2 separate regions of the Homo sapiens genome follow, and region 1 is linked to region 2. The links are contacts of gene promoters, found by promoter capture Hi-C in blood cells and fetal thymus (Javierre and others, 2016). All regions are on one chromosome and are shown on one strand. Each heading gives the region's core, a stretch centred on a gene start or on the middle of the fragment in contact. The rest is flanking DNA. Distances are from core to core; before and after follow the strand shown. Region 1 overlaps SOAT1 (sterol O-acyltransferase 1). Region 2 holds the start of ABL2 (ABL proto-oncogene 2, non-receptor tyrosine kinase).

Region 1 (2,700 bases), core at 74-2,573, 85 kb before region 2:
TATCGATAATGGCAGAATTGATGACTGGGAAGAAGGCTAGGTCATATAATAACAAGGGCTTTGAGGAAACTAAGAATTTTATGCAGGAAAATACTGAGCTGATATTGGAAGATGGAAAGGACCACATAACAGAGAAATGCAATAAATCCGGACAAAAAGTGATGTTGTAAATGGCAAGGAGAATGGAGAGCAGAGGATTAATTTAAGATATTTACAAATTGGTAACTGATTAAGAAATATAAGGGTAAGACAAATGTCCATTTGATTTTTCAATAAGTTAAAGAATATATTTTTAATTTAGTTCTATGACCAGACCATGGTTTCATAAATGAACTATTTCATAAAAAAATGAAGACAAAAGCTTCTTTCCTTCAACTAATTCAGCTACCATGGGAGAGGAGGATTGGTAAGGAGACTGTAAAAGATTAATTCTCACTACTTGTGCATCCCTTCCAAAAAGAATCTGTCTATCCATAAATAACACGACAGCCATCATTACAAACAGGCTTTGAGATGCAGCCACTGGAAAGTTAGAAAAAAGATTTGTTCACAGAGTCTCTGAAGACCCCACTGAAAATGACAAAGTTAAGTAAGTGGAAGAAAAATATATTTTAAAATGCTAATTCATTTTCCTTTACCTTCAAAATACCTCTTCATACAATATTACAAAGAAATTCTTAACTTTCTACAATTTAAAATTTAAAAATTAGATGTCAAAGTCAAAAGAATGCCTAAAAGCTAATATCCACTGCTTTTTTTTTTTTAAGACAGGTTCTCACTCTGTTGCTCAGGCTAGGGGGCAGTGGCTATGGCATGATCATAGCTCACTGTGGCCTGGAACTCCTAGGCTCAAGGGATCCTCCCGCCTCAGCCTCCCAAGTACCTAGGACTACAGGCACATGCCACCACACTCACATGCCACCACACCCACCTAATTAAAAAAAATTTTTTTGTAAAGGCAGAGCCTCGCTATGTTGCCCAGGCTGGTCTTGAACTCCTGGCCTCCAGCAATCCTCATGCCTTGGCCTCTGAAACTGTTGGGATTACAAGGATGAGCCACCATCCCCACCCACATCCAATGATTTGAAGAACTATTTACAAGCACTCAACTCAAGGCTTCTCAATTTCTAAAACACTGACCCTGAAACAATGATAAGCCAGGACTGAGGGTGATGTAATTTCGGAATCATTTGCCTCCCTCTAGTAACACACTAACTGCTAACACTAGGAGTCAGTTATTTGCTATCTGAAACTTAATAGAACCCCGCATAAGTCCATAAGGAAAACTATTCAACATTTTTTCCCTTAAATTTCTGATTTCTAAAAAAATCAGGCTTGCAATACTTATCTTCATGAATAAATGCTATCTCTTTTAAAACCTGCTATACTTAATGGGAATGTTTAAAATTTATTCCTTGACATGTCAAAAATCTTATTTTAACCAGTTTTGATGAAAATTTTTGTAAAATTATGACATGCTTTGCTACCCTAAAAAAAACACCAGACTCCAGGCGTGCTGGCTCACGCCTATTATCATCCCAGCACTTTGTGAGGCTGAGACAGGAGGGTCACTTGAAGCCAGGAGTTTGAGACCAGCCTGAGCAACAAAGTGAGACCCCCCCATTCTCTACAAAAAAATAAAACAAAAATGTACTTTACCCTACATAATCTTCGGAACAAGTAAGAGAGATCCATTGTTGTACCATACTATTATAGTGATATCTTTAGCAAAAACGGAAATGTGGAGTGCAATCAGGCCCCACTCAGCAGTCCTGGGGAGCTGTGCCTTTCTACCTAGGCTGCTTCCACAGGGTTCTCCCTAACAATCGTACACTTCTATTACTATAGTCAATCTACCGCCAAAGCTACACAGAAGAAAAGAGACAAATAACCAGGCTTGTTAAATTGGTAACTAATTTACTCAATTTATATACTCATGCATTAAGTAAAAGCCCACTGAGGACCCAATACATGCAGGGCAAACCCTCCCTTCAGGATCTCAGGAGAAAACTACAAATAGGGAAAAGGACAATACAGAGGAGCGCTGTGGGAGAATGAGGGGTGTAGGAGGCTTTTGCAGGAGTCAATATTTGAACTGAGTCTCAAATAATAAAGAAAAATTATGGTGAACAAATGCTAGAAACATTATTCCAGGCAAAGGAATGAAGCATGAAGACTTGTTGGATTTTTCTGAGGCCTGAAGCTCAGTCAGATGCCTCTTAATGCCATGCTCTCTTTTCTTGACAATATTGTATTTAATAGGCTTTGGCCTAAGGGAAGCTTATCTACTTACTTTCTAGGCCACCAGTTACATTCCTGATCAGTGTCGTCCTATAAACATACAATGTGTGGCCAGGCACGGTGGCTCACACCTGTAATCCCAGTACTTTGGGAGGCCGAGGCAGGCAGATCACCGGAGGTCAGGAGTTCGAGACCAGCCTGACCAACATGGGGAAACCCCGTCTCTACTAAAAATACAAAATTAGCCAGGCGTGGTGGCGCATGCCTATAATCCCAGCTACCTGGGAGGGTGAGGCAAGAGAATCGCTTGGACCTGGGAGGCGGAGGTTGCGGTGAGCAGAGATAGCACCATTGCACTCCAGCCTGGGCAACAAAAGCAAAACTCTGTCTAAAAAAAATATATATATACATATATATACACACATATACATATATATATACACATATATACACACATAT
Region 2 (2,700 bases), core at 174-2,673:
GTATTTTAAACACAGGGAAACTTTAATCCAAATGGAAAGTTCATATTTTATCCAGTGTTTACACATAGTGTTTCCGTTCCCATTTTGGAGTTAATTTCAGTTATTTCTGGCTACACCCTAGATGGCAATGGAATAATTTCATAGTGCTTTTACAACAGGCAATATCTACGTCAGTGGATGGTTCATCTAAGGTCAACCTGGTTCAGGAAAGATATGCAAAGGAGAGCTTCATCCACCTCTTCTCCCAACCCTACATTTCCAGTGGTTGTTTTGTTCCTTCTTTGCAGTGGCTCCCGTCCTGTCTAATTTAAGCAAAATTTCAGTGTAGTACCTCCATTAACTGATACTTTTTATAAAGCAAATTGGGAAGCCAAAAGAATAACAGGAGAATGATCAAGATTTGAGAATTAAAAAAAATTGAATTAAGATGCAAGTAAACACAGTGGGAGAGGGGGATGGCGAGTCAATTGTATATAGTATATGTGTATGTATAAAACGCTTCTTTTCTGCCTCATTCACTCTCTTTAGACTGCATAAGCTAAAATGAGTAAGTTCTGACTCAGAAACAGGGTCAAAGATATATATTTTTTCTCCTTTGTCATCAAAAGAAGACCTGACCACGTGCACAGTGTATAAAGGATGCCAGTGGGAAGATTAACTTTACTGTCAGGCATTGTAAGGAAACAGAAACTCACATATGGTGAGATGGTAAAGGAGTTCAAGAGGAATTCATGGTAATATAATATGAGGAATGGGGCTACAATTGCGTCCCCAATGAGACTATAGAAGGCACACAATCCAGGCCAGTGCGATTTAACATCATGAAATAATCTCCAAAAATTAAAATCAAATAAGGTAGCATTTTACTCTCTTCTTGTAAATTTTATACCATTTTAATTTTTACTGGAGGCCTGCTGCTGACAAGGGTGTTTAAAAGAGATCCCCCTGGGTATTTTAGAGCTCCTTAACTGGATGGCAAGGACCAAATAAATGCCTTGTGCTTTTCTGCCCCACCTGTGCCTGCACCTGAGCTGCGCACGCGGTGGCACTGAGCCCTCGACTCACTCATTTGACAGGTGGAGGTGGGATGGGGAAGGCCGGAGACCGACCAACCCCAAAGGCGGTAGCGTGTGGAGCCGAACGCGGGAGGGGGTCGGCTGAGGCGGATTGAGGGGGGGGACGCCGAGGTGCGGCGACAGGACGCGGAGGACGAAAGACCTCAAGCAGCGGTGGCCGGCAAATGAGGTGGGCACTGGGGGACCCACCCTGCGAGGAGGCGGGGGCGGGGACGGGGGGCGCGGCGCGGCAGGGCGGGGCGGCAGCCGGGAAGCCCTCCTTCCCCGCGGCGGAGGTGACTGGCGGGCGGGGGGCGGGGGGCGGGGGGCGGGAGACGCTCTGTCCCACGCTTTCCCAGCGCTCGGTGGTTTAAAGATGGCGGCGGCGGTGGCGGCGGCGGCGGCGGCGGCGTTGGGGGCGCGGAGCCGCGACAGGAGGAGGGAAAAGCAGAATCTGTGAGTCGCCTGGAGGCAGCGCGGCGGCTGCCGTGAGGAGGCCGGGTGCGGAGCCGCCGGTGGCCCAGCCACTCAGGGCCAGGGCCTGGGCTGGGAGGGAGAGACCGGAGCAGCGCCAGGAGCCCGAGGCCGGAGCCGAGGAGGAATGTGACCAGGGGTCGGCGGGGGCGCGGGAGTACGCGAGAGCAGGGATGGGGCAGCAGGTGGGCCGCGTCGGGGAAGCTCCGGGGCTCCAGCAGCCTCAGCCCCGCGGGATCCGGGGCAGCAGTGCAGCCAGGCCCTCCGGCCGCAGGCGGGACCCGGCGGGGCGCACCACAGAGACCGGCTTCAATATCTTCACCCAGCATGGTGAGTGTGTCTGGGAGCCGGCATGAGAGCGTGGGGGAGGCCGGGGGTGGGGTCGGGGCGGGGTGGGTGGCGGACGGGCTGCCCGAGGGGTCGGAGGGTGGAAGGTGCCTGAGAGTGGGGGCGGAATCCGCTGCCATCTGGTCCAGTCCTGGGAGGCGAGTCACACCCCTCCCCCCTCGCGTCTCTAGCCTGGCTGGCAGATCCCGGGGGCGGAGAAGGAAAGAGAAGTGGGTTTGGGGACCCTGGATGGTCTGTCCTCTACTCTGGGACGGGACTATGCGGCTGCAGAAAGAAAGTGAATGGCAGCTTCAGGAGAGGGAAGGATGAAGGGCAGTATTAGCTCAGTCCCAGAGGTGGGAGCATAAACCCGTCGTTAGTGAAGGGGAAATGGGTTGTATCCTAAGGGATTGGGAAATGGGAACTGAATTTCAGGAGATTGTGGAGTACAAGGTATGTGTTTACGTTAGGTGATGAGCAGTGTCAGGATAGTGAACTGTGGACAGTGTCAAATGCTTTTCTGTAGGGAAGATGAAGTTAGCATCATCTTATCACTTTTGACATGCTTTTGTGGTTTATTTTGTTTTGTATTTCGTTTTTACTAGAAATGAAAGGCTTTGCCAAAGCCTCTGTACTATGCTTCAGAGTAGGACACACAATTCTGAGATTGCTGGCAAGGGCTAGAGGTTGGTGGGCATGGTTAGGACGTCAGTCAGGATATGAACAAGTTTTCCTTTGTAGTGTGTGCGTGTGCCCATATACATACATACATGTATGTATGCTCCCTGTAGTCTGAAACCTATTATTTTGATCTCATTGTCAATGTATTTTTAGAATAGTTGTC

What was found. The method cuts DNA at HindIII sites, captures the fragments that hold promoters and counts their contacts. A CHiCAGO score of 5 or more calls a contact.
Region 1: a contact is called between a fragment that was not itself captured here and the fragment with the promoter of ABL2 in region 2, in 1 of 17 cell types (activated CD4 T cells). The highest score is 5.1, in activated CD4 T cells.

Annotation. Positions count from the first base shown.
Region 1 is chr1:179,313,534-179,316,233 of GRCh38, reverse strand. All of the region lies in intron 2 of SOAT1 (sterol O-acyltransferase 1), which reads right to left. Among named protein-coding and RNA genes, the nearest start is that of SOAT1, 21 kb to the right of the region's middle. The HindIII fragment of the contact is 1,919 bases long and covers 364-2,282 here.
Region 2 is chr1:179,228,400-179,231,099 of GRCh38, reverse strand. ABL2 (ABL proto-oncogene 2, non-receptor tyrosine kinase) reads left to right here and starts at 1,423. Exons shown (of 12, transcript NM_007314.4): 1 at 1,423-1,859. The coding sequence starts at 1,703. RefSeq lists a silencer at 1,508-1,917 and an enhancer at 1,373-2,129. The HindIII fragment of the contact is 8,969 bases long and covers 1-2,700 here.